Regions from separate parts of the Homo sapiens genome. Here all the other regions are linked to region 1. Evidence: promoter capture Hi-C in 16 types of primary human blood cells and fetal thymus (Javierre and others, 2016). All regions are on one chromosome and are shown on one strand. The core of a region is centred on a gene start or on the middle of the fragment in contact, and the rest is flanking DNA. Distances in the headings are between cores, read along the strand shown.

Region 1 (4,290 bases), core at 432-2,931:
TGGAGGTGCATGGGCTTTGGAGTCAGGCAGAGTTGATCCTGAGTTCCAGCCCAGCCCCTTAGTAGGCCCTAAGGACTCCCGTGGTGCTGTCACAAGCAGTGCTGCCTTTGGGAGCCCCTAACCTCCTGTCTTTTCTCCCTTCAGTGTGGGAAAGGGGTTTGGTCAGCCAGTGGTGTCAGCAGCCCTGTCCCACACCCGTTGTCTACACCTAATCTGGTGGCAGGGAGGCCACAGAGTGCAGCGACTAGAACTGGGTGAGAGGGTGAGAGGCAGCCATGCCCCAGGCCAAGACAAGTGCATGGAATCCTGACTGTCAGCAATCAGGGATGTTTCTGCTTTGGGGAGGGAAGCATTTGTTCCACACGTCTCACTGAATAAGGCACAGAGCCTGATCTGTCCCAAGTGGGAGTTTAACCAAGCTAGATGGCGGCCGAGGGCCCTGGCCCAGTTTGACACCCACCTCCTCTCCCACCTTCTACTCAGCCAGAAGACTAGGAGAATCTACTCAGCCGGAAGACTACGAGGTGCTGCAGCGCCACTAGCTCCAAGACTCCAGAAAAACAGGAATAGGGCATTCTGGCAGGTCAAAGCAGACAGAATACTTGAGCTCAGGAGTTGGCGAACTGACTATTAACCTGTAGCCCCAGTTACTTGGGAGGCTAAGGTGGGAGGATCGCTTGAGCTCAGGAGATGGAGACCAGCCTGGGCAACATGGTGAAACCTCATCTCTACAAAAAATACAAAAATCAGCCGGGCATGGTGGCATGTGCCTGTAGTCCCAGCTACTCAGGAGGCTGAGGTGGGAAGATTGCTTGAGCCCCGGAGGCTGCAGTGAGCCATGACTGCACCACTGCACCAGCCTGGGCAATAGAGTGAGACCCTGTCTCAAAACAAAAGCAAAAACCAGAGGTAGGGCTGAGGAGTCCGTGGCCACAGAGCCTGAGCCAGCACGGCCCAGAGGAACTGAGCTCCCAGCCCTGTCGCTGCCAAGGACCCTTCTTCCCTGAGCTTGAAGGGATTGAGAAGGAGAGACAGACGGACAGTCAGCGGCCCCGTTACCAGTGATGCAGACTCCAGGAGATGCGGGCAGAGTTGTAGATTAGAAGAATAGGCCAGCCCCTCTTCCACGTTCCACCACGGCCCGCAACATCCTCCTGGGACCCCAGCCTGCATGCCCCTATAAGATGCTTTTGCACTGGTTCAGTCTATGTATCATGCGAGGGCCTAATTGAAAACACGTGAATGAAGTGTACGGCCTTCTGTTCCCAGCTGAGGGGCCCCCTCCCACGGTGGCGTTAGCAGTGGGGTACAGTGCGGTAAGAGAGGTGCTAAGGGACGGGATGAGGGTCTTTCTTGCTTTAAAGGTGTCTAAATATACTTCTTCTTAAACTTAATTAGCTAATAAGATGTCTTATACAAGCAGAACCAGGTAAGGGAAAGAGCAAGTGTATTTCAAGTCGCAGCTCACCCCTTAATTAGCTGTAATACCCGCAGCAGGCGGCCCCACCTCAATGAGCCAGTCTCCCTTTCAAAAAAAAAAAAAAAAAAGGCACTAATAATGAGGGGGCGGGGCATGGAGCTTTATCCAATCAGGGGCGCTGGAGTGGAAACCGTCCAATCAGGAGTGAAGCCGGAGAGCAGGGGCGGCTTCCGGGATTTGGCGGGGGCCTTCGTCGGCTCCAGTTAGAGCTCGGGTCTCCTCGCCACAGCTCCGAGTCTTTCGTTCTGGGAGGCCCAGGCGGCTTCGCGTTCTGAGAATAAACAGAACCTCTGTTGCTCTGCGACTTGCAGGCACTGGGAGATTCGTAGCTAAGACGCCAGGGCATCCCGGAAGCTGGGAAATGGTGAGTGTGCGGGGTCGGGGGTCCCCAGAGGGAGGGAGGGCGGTGGTCGGAAGCGGCGGGAACCCGCTGTAGGGGCACCCGGGCCTCCCCGCAGTCAGCCTCGGGGTCTGGGCCCCGAGTCCCAACTGGTGCAGCTCGGCCCTCGGTCCCCTCCGCTGCAAGATGGCGGCCAGGCCGGCAGCCGGGACCCCGCGTGTCCTGTCCCATCCCGACCCCGCAGAGCGACCTCGTCCCTGGCCGGAGCCCTCTCTGGGCAGCTCCGCGTCGCAGCCCCGCGTCTCCCCCAGATTGTGCGGTGAGGACGGGAGCGTCTCAGGGGAGACCCAGGTTCGGTGTGTGGGAAGAAACCGTGCCCTGTGGGGTCCTCAGTCACTACTCCTCTTAAGAATTAAAGGGAGTCACTGTTAAAACGTTGAAGAATTTGAGCAAATAGCGATTTGTGACATGGGAAGCCTGCAGTCCTGGTTTGTGGTTCGGAGATCCCCAGAGGGGCTTGAAGGAAAGGTTTTTATAAGGTGCATGAGGAAGCAGACCAAATTAACCGATGGGTTACAGTTTGTAGTTGCCTTATTTAGACTATGCAGGTGGAGGTGAATTGGAGCTTTGTGGTTCGTTAAGTCTGAATTTTGTTTTCCCCTAAAGTTGTAATTTACAAGAAAAGCATTTGAGTTTGGTTTTGGTTTTTCTCCCTAGAAACCTGGGGCACTATAACCACTTCCGTATAATCGCCTGCTCATTAATCATCTTAACACTGCCCAGGGGAACTGGTTTTCCCCCTGCGCTTTCCTAACGTGTAGCACGCAGAGTCTCAAGTCCACCACTGTGTTCCCCCAGTCTAACTGGGCTTGCAATAAAATATTAAATTTCCAGTTCCTTCCCGACATTTCCAAAGGCCAACTTCCCCTCTCCAGTTCACATTCTTAACTATTGGTCATTTATTGTACATTTCAGACAGTATTTTACTCATTAATCATGATTTCACAGAGCAGTGGATGACACTTTTTTAAAGATTTGTGTTTTTTTGGCATACATTTCACGTGAGAGGAAAGCAGAGAATAAAAAATCCCTGACACTCCACTGCAAAAAAAACTGTGCCTCTTTTTCATTCATCTTCCCCAGGCACAGACACGTTATCGGAAAGAATGTCTTTTGACTTGAGGTTTTGCTTTGGAAACTTTACAGGGCCCTGTATAGCCACCCTCTATCCAGTCTTTTCCTGTTCCTGAATTTCAGAACTGTCTGGGATGACTCAAGATGCCCACAGTGGCCATGTCTCCTGGAGTGTTTAGTGACTGTCAGCCCCAGGTCACCTCCTGTTAGAGGACCGCCCAAGGTATGGAAATGTAGTCCCTCAGGGGAGCAGCTGGATGCCCTGGGGCTGAGAGAAATCTCCTGGGACACCCTTAACCTAAAAAGATAACCCCTTGGGACATAAGGATTTTATTTCTTCAAAGCTAGTTTTCATCCCTTGGAGACACATTGCTGGTCAGCCAATCGTTTGCTGGTATTGAGGGGAAACAGTCACAAATGATTCCTGCCCCCTAGATTCATTCAGATTTGTGAAGGGAGAAAAACTCCCAAAGGACCAAAAAACAAAAACCCCACCCCAGTGAGGTGGTGCAAACTCGGCTGCGGTGTCCATGGGGCACAGTGCAGGATCTGGGAGGATGGTCCCTGAGCATTTTAATGAGCAGTATTGGGGTAGGAGAATGTCTCAAATGATACCGTGACCTGACTTGACACTTGAGCCAGATATGTCTGTATTCCAACAGCATTACCACTCCCTGAGTTTGCTGCCTTAGATTGTTCATTTATTTCTACTTCAGTTTTTCAGTTAGTGTAAATTTCATCAGTAGAGCTTGAAAGATAAAAAACATTTCCAAGGCCATGAAAGGTGGATTTCAGAAAATTAAAATATCAAGTCATACTTCATTGTTAAAAATTCTTACTATCTTTTTTTTCAGCAGAATGAGTGTAGTAAGTTTCTCAGGTTTGTTCTTTTTTTGGGAGTAATTTAAAACAGAATCTCAGGGCTCACCTTTTGGAAATGCTGCCAGGGAAAAGAAACAGAGAAAATCTTTCTTTCATTATTGGCTGTAGAAAGTGAATACATTTTCACAACAACGTGTGGTAAATTGGTGAATTACATAGTTTCATCAAAACATCAGTTTCTTTTTTTTGTAGGGTGAAGAAGTTATGACAGTGGATATCTTTGTTCTTTATCCTCTTGTCTGGATGTTGAGTTTATTTTTTATTTTTTGTTTTTGGAGACAGGATCTCTCCTCTGTCACCCAGACTGAAGTGCAGTGGTGTGATCACAGCTCACTCAACCTCCTGGGCTCAAGTGATCCTCCCACCTCAGCCTTCCAAGTAGATGGGACTTACAGGGGTGCTGCGCCATGGCTGGCTATTTTGTTTTTTCTTTTTGTAAAGATGTGGGTCTCAC
Region 2 (4,674 bases), core at 12-2,511, 520 kb before region 1:
ATAACCCACTTTCTAAAATGAAAATGTGAAGATCTCAGTCCCCATGAATTCCCTTCAATGCTGTCCTCCACTCTCAGGACAAAATCAATGTGTCTTCACCAGGTGTGGTGGCTCACACCTGTGATCCCAGCAATTTAGGAGGCTGAGGCAGGAGGATTGATTGAGATCAGGAGTTTGAGACCAGCCTGGCCAACATGGGGAAACTCTGTCTCTACTAAAATTAAAAAATATATATATATAAATATATATATATATTCAGGTGCAGTGGTGCAATCCTATAGTCCTGGCTACTCAGGAGGCTGAGGCAGGAGGATCCCTTGGGCCCAGGAGTTCGAAGCAGCAGTGAACTATGCACCCACTGCACTCCAGCCTGGGTGGCAGAGCAAGACCCTGTTTCTGAAATTAAAAAAAAAAATTGATGTACATTAGGGGGGCTTCCACGGCCTGAGGCCTGCTTCCCCTTGCTTTCCTCCCAGTGGCCCTGACCTTGTCTCTTACAACTTCCCACCCTGACTGTCTGGTTCCCATTGCTGATTTCACACACAGACCCTCCTGTCCCCTGCCTCATCCATGTCTGGCTGCTCTGTCATCTCCCAACTTTGGTTGCTTTCAATGCTCAGCTCAAGCACCACCTCTTTCAGGAAGCCTTCTCAGAAAGCCACACCTTCACAACCCGGGTGAGGCACCCTGTGGTCTCTGTGCTTCCCCCTCACAGCAATGAACTTGCTGTTTATACATCTGCCTCTCCACTGACCCCAGGGCTGGTGCTTTGTGGTTTATATTTTCTTCCCCACCTAGCAGAGGGCTTGCATCTCCAGGCTCAAATTAGGCTTCTTGAATAAATGATGAATAAATGAGTGAATGAATGAATGAACAAATACTCGCTCTGTGCTCCTCCTAGGGACCCGGATGCCCCACTCCTTGGCCCAGACTTTCCAGGTCAGAGTGGAGGGCTCCCACCAGGGTTTCCTTTAGGGTCCTGAGGGGTTGGCATCTGCCCAAACCCCCTCCAGTCTGGCTGAAATTTCAAGGTCAAGGGGTGCCTTCTGGCAGTCAAGGGTGAGCCTGGGAGGGGCAGGGCAGGGATTTGCATCCATCTAAGCAAAGGGCATCAAGCCAAGTCATCTGATGAGAGTGACTCCGGTTGGGGGGTGGGGGCGTGTGGGAGGCCGAGCCTGTCCTCGGATCAGTTGCGTACTCTGCCCGCCCCCTCTGACTCATGCTGACAATCTTCTTCCTTCCCCTGGCCACCTCTCTGCCCACTTGCTTCCTCAGTACCTTGGTCCAGCTCTTCCTGCAACGGCCCAGGAGCTCAGAGCTCCACATCTGACCTTCTAGTCATGACCAGGACCAGGGCAGCACTCCTCCTGTTCACAGGTGAGCCTGGACCCCAATGAAGTAGGGCTGGGGACCCAGGCCCAAGGGAGCCAGGGCCCTGAACTGGGGGCTCAGGCTGGGGGGTTAGGATCTGGGTAGGAAGAGAGACTCAGTCAAGCCTGAGGGGGAGGCAGGCACATAGGGTCTGAGATTTGGAGTTTGTGGAGGGAGAGGATATTGATGAACCAATTTTGGGAGAGTTCCAGAGATGCTGGAAGAGAGGCCAGTTGTCTCTGTACTGCAGAGATTTTTAAAATAGGCAGAATGCGCCAACTTGTGCTCTGTGGACAGGATGCTTTGGTCCGCAAGTTTTCCTGGACTCACTCTCATAGCGCCCGAGGTGCACGTTGGGGAAAGATCCTTTTTAGAGCCTGGGTACTGCTCTGCAGAAATGGAGAACTGCAACTCGATAGTGGATGGTGGGCAAGGGGCATCCCTGGACCCTGGGAAGGAGAGAAGGGGATGAGTTGGGTGTCCAGAAGACCCAGGCACCCCGGGCATCAGGCTCGGAGGGGAGATTGGGACGCTGGGGCCGGGGGTGGAGGGCAGCCAGGCAGAAGGAAGACCCTTCTCCAAAGCTCTCTTCCCACCTCTTTCCCAGCCTTAGCAACTTCTCTAGGTTTCAACTTGGACACAGAGGAGCTGACAGCCTTCCGTGTGGACAGCGCTGGGTTTGGAGACAGCGTGGTCCAGTATGCCAACTCCTGGTGAGGCCCAGGTGGTGCTGGCCTTTGGCTCCATCCATCCTCTCCCTGCTCAGGGCCCCATGCCCCCGGCCCTGCCCTGTTATTTGCAAACTCTCCTCTCTGTCTGGTGTAGCGACTGCCCTGGCTAATGAAGATTTGCCTTGAAGGCAGGCACGGTCTCACAGCTAACATTTACAGAGCAGTAAGTGCAGTGCCAGGCTCATCACAGGTGGATGCTGATTTAGTCCACACGACAGCCTGTGAGTAGGAATCAGTCGTGCAACAAACACTTATTTGTTTTTTCTTTCTTTTTTTCTATACATTTAAAAATATATAGAGACAGGGTCTCACTATGTTGCCTGGGTTGGTCTCAAACTCCTGGGCTCAAGCAATCCTCCCGCCTCAGCCTCCCAAAGTGCTGGGATTCCAGGTGTGAGCCACCACACCCAGACTCAACAAATATTTCTTGTCTCCATACGCCAGAGAATCCAACAGACAGAAATCCCTTCCACATGGACTTTAAATTATTAAAATCCATCTTGCAGATGAGGAAGCTGAGGCTCAGGGAGGGAACGCAAACTTGCCGGAGTGGCAGCTGTGCTGCAGCGTCCACACTCTTACCTAAAGTGTTCTTTGTCTCCTCGCAGGGTGGTGGTTGGAGCCCCCCAAAAGATAACAGCTGCCAACCAAACGGGTGGCCTCTACCAGTGTGGCTACAGCACTGGTGCCTGTGAGCCCATCGGCCTGCAGGGTGAGTCACCGCCCCTCCCGGGACCCAGGGCCGGGCTCCCAGGCTTCCCTGCTCCAGGGGCCCGTGGACTCACCGGAGTGTCACTTTCAGCTTCCACTGTGTCTGAGACCCTCACCCTCAGATATGCTTCCTGGCCCCTTAAGGCCTCCCCGCCCATCGCACTCCCGCAGCTCTGTCAAGACCCGACAGCTTCCTTCACCGTCAGACCTCCTTGTCTCCCAGGTGGAGGTGACCCCTGCCCAGCTCTTCCACAGCCTTCTCTGTACCCCCGAGAGTGACCATGCACATATCTGTCCCCACAGTGCCCCCGGAGGCCGTGAACATGTCCCTGGGCCTGTCCCTGGCGTCTACCACCAGCCCTTCCCAGCTGCTGGTGAGTGGCCCTGGGTCACAGGAGGCTTCTGAGGGAGGGAGGGAGGAGCCGGGGCCGCGGGGGGCTGGGAGTCTCCTGTAGGGTGGAGGTTCCGGAATGTGAGGGTGGGAGGAAGCAGGGGCAGCCCCCCAGCAGCCCGCTGTGTCCCCAGGCCTGCGGCCCCACCGTGCACCACGAGTGCGGGAGGAACATGTACCTCACCGGACTCTGCTTCCTCCTGGGCCCCACCCAGCTCACCCAGAGGCTCCCGGTGTCCAGGCAGGGTGAGTGTCGGGACCACCAAGGCTTTGAGGAGCTCACGCACATCCAATTGGGGGTGCGGTGGGCTAGAGACAGTCTTGCCAGAGTGGATCAGAAAGAAGGGATCTGGAAAAAGAGTTACCACGTGTTGCAGTGGTTCCTGACGCTGCTGCCCGCACATCCTGCCGATCGCCCGCACGCTGCCGGACCTTTCCTGTGACCTTAACCTCTCCAAGCCTCAGTTTCTTCATCTGTTGGATGGGGATAATAACACACCCAGCACTGAAAGCAACACAGGATGATTCATGGCCAGGGGTTAGCACAGCAGCTAGCACCAGGCGACAGCCCCATGAAGGCCAGCTGTTGTTATTTTTAGAGGAGAGGATCTATTTTCATCCAATGGGTCCTGGGATATGACCAATTGGTTTGTGCCGTAGTTTAGGAAAGGTCAGTGAAAGTGCAGTGTGAGCAACGTGTGTGTGTGTACATGTGTGTATATGTATGCATGTGTATACATGTGCACATGCACACATGTACATGCATGTGTGTGCATGTATGTGTGTGTGCGTGTGCACATGCAGGTTGAGACGCAGGGCCTGACTTCCCTGGTGCTGATGGGGAAGAAAGATAAGGAAGCAAAACAGTGGGCTTTGGCAGGCTGAGGCCTCCCCCTGGTTTCACATTTGCTCTCAAGCCTTTGGTGAGACTGACATCTGGCTGCAAATAGGGTGTGCCTTCCAGCACCTCCGTGGGTCCAGACTCCATCCACAGGGGCCTGGGCACCCATCAGAATGCCCAGGACACCTGTCTCTCCGGTGGAGGCCTCTGGGGCAGAGGGGATGCTTGAGAGGTCACATGGAAGGGGGTTTCCTCTCCAGGTGCTGGAAGATCGTCTCTTCTCAGGACAGATGCTAACTTCACACAGGAGGGGAGTGGGGGCCTGTATTTAAGCTGAGAACAGAACAGGCCCAGTGTGTGGCTGTTGCCTGGGATGATTTGTTTAAAATATTAACAATCAAGGCAAGAGGGTTGTTTGAGGCCTGGAGTTTGAGACCAGCCTGGGCAACATAGTGAGACCTCATCTCTACAAAAAATAAATATAAAATACAAAGTAGCTTGGCATGCTGTTACATACCTCTAGTCCTAACTACTGGGGAGGCTGAGGCAGGAGAATCGCTTGAGCCCAGGAGTTGGAGGCTGTAGGGAGCTTTGATCACACCACTGCACTCCAGCCTGGGTGACAGAGT
Region 3 (4,639 bases), core at 564-3,063, 670 kb before region 1:
TTTTGAGCAAAGTGCAACCTATGACCCTTTCCCCCACGGGATGGGGTGGGGCAGAGGGAGCCTTTAAGCCTGTTAAGAGCCAGCACCAGAAGGAGCCCTCGAGCAATTTGGTGACTTGTGCTCTTCTGTCCTATGTTTAGATAATGCTCTAATGTGTCTCCCCCTGCAAATTTCTCTAATTCTGCATTTTTCTCCAGTGGAAAATGTGGAAGGTAGGGGAGCTATGAAGACTAGTGTGTTTCTAAATGGCTTGGACAGAGCTGCCCACCAGTTTGCGCCCTTTGGTACATGCCTCTTTTAACCTTCGGACCTGGGTCACAGGCTGTTATCTATAATGGTAAGGTTAGACCCTTTAGGGAGCACTGGAGGAGCACCACCTGGTGAATGAGGAGGGATATTCCATGGCGATACCAGGAAGGATGGGGGAAGCATTTGGGGTGCCAGAGACCCTAGGGACATGGAGCTGGAGGCTGGGTGGCCTCTGAAGCATAGCTGAGCTCTGCACATGCCAGCAGGCTAGAAGCAGGAAAACACACAAGTTCAAGCTGGCTTTTCGTATATTGTGTATAAAAAGATCAGATTCAGGATGATTTGGTGGGATTGCCAGGGGCTGACCGGAGTGTTGCTGGGAAGGAGCCTCAGCTCCGCTCCAGGTCCTCCACCAGGTAGGACTGGGACTCCCTTAGGGCCTGGAGGAGCAAGTCCTTGCAGGTCCAGTTCCAGGCTGGTGTGAAACTGAAGAGCTTCCGCATCTTGCTTGGGTTGGTGGGCTCGGCCCGCACTGCCTGGTACTGCTCATCCGTCAGGACCTTCCCGTACAGAGCATCCAGCAGCCACTCAACGTTTGTGACCCTCGCGATAAGCGCAGCCCGGTGCTGGTCTATAAAGTGCAGGCCTGGGGGTGGGAGGAGAACATGAGCCAGCAGCCAGGGTGTGGGGCCTGTCCCTGCTGAACTTGAGTTCTTCAGGAATTCCTCTGCAAGCCTAGGGGCAGGGCTCCAGGGGGCGGCCACCAGGACCCCACATGCAGTGGGATGAGGGTAATATTGTCTCCCTTCCCCCGCAGGGTGTGGGTTGGTGGGTGGGGTGCGCAGGGTTGCCAAGCCGTGCCTGCCCTGCCCTGCCCTGCCCTGGTTGCGGGAGCACAGATGCAGGCTGTGCAGGAGTGCGGTGGGGCCGGGCTGGGTGTGGAGGCCTCACCTGGCTTGGCTGCCGACTGAGGAGGGGCCTGGATCCCAGCTGGCGCGGCTCCAGAGCCTGGAAGGATATGGGCCAAGTGATCCCCTTCCCTTCCCTTCCCGCCGTGGGGCCGGGGTCCCGTTGGTCGGTAGGCCAAGCGTGGGGAGCCTCCTTTCCGGTAGAGCAGCTTTGTTTAGGGGTAGGAGGAACAGAAAGCGGAAGAGCCCGCGGGGTAAGCGCTGGTGTGGGTGGAGGGGAAAGACGGGGTGGAGGGGAACGGGGGCGGCTCACCCTGGTGCGTGGCCGCCTGCAGCTGCCCGGCCATCTCCTGCAGGCCCATGTCGCGCAGCACGTTAGCGGTGAGCTCGGCGCCGTAGGTCTCCAGGTAGAAGCTGACCAGCTTGTCGGTGAGGTCCAAGGCGTCCATGGACAGCAGCGCGCCCCGCGGGATGCGCCCGTAGCCCTCGCGCAGCGGCACCGACAGCAGCTTCAGCTTGAACTTCTTGAGCTCCTCGGCGGTCAGGTTCTCCAGCGCATCCAGGATGGCGTCGCGCGCGCGCCCCATGGCTCCAGGATCCCCGGCCGCTGCCGCCGCTCACCCCGCTGCAGCCGCCGACCAGGAGGAAGTCGGCTCCGGGGCGGAACCTGGACTCCCCGCCTTCCTCCCACTCTGGTCTCCCGACTCCCCGCCCCGGTCCGTTGCCCTCCAGCAAAAGGCGCTTCCTTACTACACCCTTGGTCCCCTCCCACCCAGGCCTCTGGATTGGGGCCCCAGGCCGTCGGGGGACGCCAGGATCGCGCCCTCCAGCTGGCCTGCGAGGTGGGACCCGGGAGGGGGCCGCAGAGGGGCTCATGGGTGGCGCCTGCTTGTCTCTGGGCTTGCACCAGCGGGTACAGACCGGAAACCTGGGCTGGCTCTCACTGGGTTTATTGGAGCACCTAGGCTTAGAACCTCGGATTTCTAGAACCCCGAAACCTCCGCGGTTCCCCGAACCTTAGGATCCTCTCCCACATGTCGTAGAATCTTGGAATCATGACAGCTAGAAGCGTGAAGCTCCCTCAATTCCACATACTGGGGAAAAATGAGTTGTACAAAAGGGCAGAGAGTGCAAATCTCTCTGAGCTTCAGTTTCATTTTCTACGACATGGGGATAACCCTCCGGTGCTTATAAATATTCCAGCATAACATGGCCAACCCGATGGCTCCCGAAACCTTGCCAGATGCTTCCTAGGGGAGCCAGAATTTGATCCCAACACTGATTAAAAAAAAGAAAAAAGAAAGAGAGACAGCCTCCAGGAGATTAAAGACCATGAACTTGAAGCCATACAGTTCTTTGTTTGAATCCTGACTCTACTTCCCAAGGGGGATATTTGGAATCCTTTATTTTTCCCTCTCATCTGGGTTGTAACAATCACTGTTCCTTGTAGTCATACGACCCTGACATATTATACGTTTATATGCTTATTGGACATTCATCCCTCTCTAAAATGTGAGGCCTATGAGCATCGGAGACCTTAACTGTCTTATTCTTTGCTGAATTCCTAGCGTCAAGAATGTACCTGGAAATAGCTGTGTGTGGTGGAGGGCGCCTGTAATCCTAGCTACTAGGGCGGCTGAGGCATGAGAATCGCTTGAACCTCGGAGGCAGAGGCTACAGTGAGCCAAGATTGCACCACTGCACTCCAGCCTGGGTGACAGAGCTAGATTCCATCTGAAAAAAAAAAATGTATCTGGAACACATTAGGTGCTGAGTAAAGATTTGCTGAGTGAAGGAATGAATGAGGCTGTGATGCCTGCAGCATGTTGTATTCAAAAGCTTCCAGCATGGCTGGGTGCAGTGGCTCATCACGCATGTCATCTCAGTGCTTTGGGAGGCTGAGGCCGGAGGGTCACTTGAGCCCAGGAGGTTGAGGGTGCAGTGAGCTATGATTGTGCCACTGCACTCTGTGCCACTCGGCAACAGACACCTTGTCTCAAAAACAAACAAGACAACCAGGATGGGCCGGGCACGGTGACTCATGCCTGTAATCCCAGCATTTTGGGAGGGCGAGGTGGGTGATCAGGAGTTTGAGACCAGCCTGGCCAACAGAGTGAAACCCCATCTCTACTAAAAATACAAAAATTAGCCGGGCGTGGTGGCAGGTGCCTGTAATCCCAGCTACTGGGGAGGCTGAGGCAGGAGAATCGCCTGAACCCGTGAGGTGGAGGTTGCAGTGAGCTGAGATCACACCATTGCACTTCAGCCTGGGCAACAAGAGCGAAACTCCATCTCAAAACAGGAACAAAAACAAACAAACAAAAACCACGATGGGGAGCAGTGCTCTGCTACCCTGCTGAAAGCCTTTTTGTTGTTGTTGTTGTTGTTGTTTGTTTTTTCTTTTGAAGACAGGACCTCACTCTGTTGCCCAGGCTGGAGTACACCGGAGGGATTGTGGCTCACTGCAGCCTTGAACTCCTGGGCTCAAGCAATTCTCTCACCTCGGCCTCCTGAGTACCTGCGACTACAGTTGTGCCACCATGCCTGGCTAGTTTTTAAAATTTTTATAGAGAATGGGTTTCCCTATGTTGTTCAGGCTGGTCTCAAAGTCCTGGGCTCAGCAGTCCTCCTGCCTTGGCCTCCCAACATGCTAGGATTACAGGTGTGAGCCACTGTGCCTGGCCTTGCTCCCCATCCTTGTAGCATGTGGGCTGGGGTAAGCTGTGTGCCAACATCCTCACCATGGGTGGCACTTGTGGTCCAACAGCCAGTGTTCCTTGGCTCATGGATGTTTATCATGCCTTCTCACTGGCCTTTATCCTTCCAGAATCTCCATTTCCTTTTGTGCACTGTGGCCAGAAGGATACATCTTCCTAACCCACACATATGATCCTGCACCTGCCTGGCTCAGAGACCCCCTCATGACTCCCCAGTGCCCTCAAACTCAAGTCCCAAGCCCTTGGCTTGGCCTTCAAGGTCCTTGCCAACCTCTTCAGCTGCCCCTTCCAGCTTGCTGATCCGTGAACCTCCGCCCCTGTGGGAGCTGCTCTCTGCTTGGCCTCTTTTTCCTCCTGGTCTACTTGGTGAGTTCCTGCCTGTCTTCTGACGTTCATCAGGCATCACTTTTTCTTTTCTGCTTTTATTTTAGAGATGAGGTCTCACTCTGTTGCCCAAGCTGGAGTGCAGTGCGCAATCATAGCTCATTGTAGCCTCGAACTCCTGGGTTCCAGCGATCCTCCCACCTCAGCTTCCTGTGTAGCTGGAACTACGGGTGCATGCCACCATGCTCAGCTAATTTTTTAATTTTTTTGTAGAGATGGGGTCTGGCTATGTTGCCCAGGCTGATCTCCAACACCTGGGCTCAGCGATCCTCCTGCCTTGGCCTCCCAAAGCACTGGGATTACAGGTGTGAGCCAACACACCCAACCTAGGAGTCACCTCTTCTAATAAATAATAGAAATAAGCCTTTAGTCTGCAGTCCT

Evidence for each region. Contacts are between HindIII fragments. The CHiCAGO score rates a contact against its expected background, and 5 or more counts as called.
Region 2: the fragment with the promoter of ITGAX here is called in contact with the fragment with the promoter of ZNF267 in region 1 in 3 of 17 cell types (neutrophils, monocytes and megakaryocytes); the score reaches 11.3 in neutrophils.
Region 3: the fragment with the promoter of PYCARD here is called in contact with the fragment with the promoter of ZNF267 in region 1 in 17 of 17 cell types (activated CD4 T cells, naive CD4 T cells, naive CD8 T cells and 14 more); the score reaches 31.1 in activated CD4 T cells.

What each region holds. Positions count from the first base shown.
Region 1 is chr16:31,872,126-31,876,415 of GRCh38, forward strand. ZNF267 (zinc finger protein 267) reads left to right here and starts at 1,682. Exons shown (of 4, transcript NM_003414.6): 1 at 1,682-1,844. The coding sequence starts at 1,842. RefSeq lists an enhancer at 1,503-1,797 and silencers at 1,684-1,733, 1,884-1,963. The HindIII fragment of the contact is 12,710 bases long and covers 1-4,290 here.
Region 2 is chr16:31,353,915-31,358,588 of GRCh38, forward strand. ITGAX (integrin subunit alpha X) reads left to right here and starts at 1,262. Exons shown (of 30, transcript NM_000887.5): 1 at 1,262-1,377; 2 at 1,979-2,084; 3 at 2,711-2,814; 4 at 3,117-3,187; 5 at 3,339-3,450. The coding sequence starts at 1,341. RefSeq lists enhancers at 524-653, 844-1,033. The HindIII fragment of the contact is 18,983 bases long and covers 1-4,674 here.
Region 3 is chr16:31,200,947-31,205,585 of GRCh38, forward strand. PYCARD (PYD and CARD domain containing) reads right to left here and starts at 1,814. Exons shown (of 3, transcript NM_013258.5): 1 at 1,471-1,814; 2 at 1,201-1,257; 3 at 540-895. The coding sequence starts at 1,744. The coding sequence ends at 639. PYCARD-AS1 (PYCARD antisense RNA 1) reads left to right here and starts at 939. Exons shown (of 2, transcript NR_102400.1): 1 at 939-1,040; 2 at 1,514-2,506. RefSeq lists enhancers at 645-1,275, 1,465-1,694 and a silencer at 1,805-2,164. The HindIII fragment of the contact is 5,508 bases long and covers 1-2,994 here.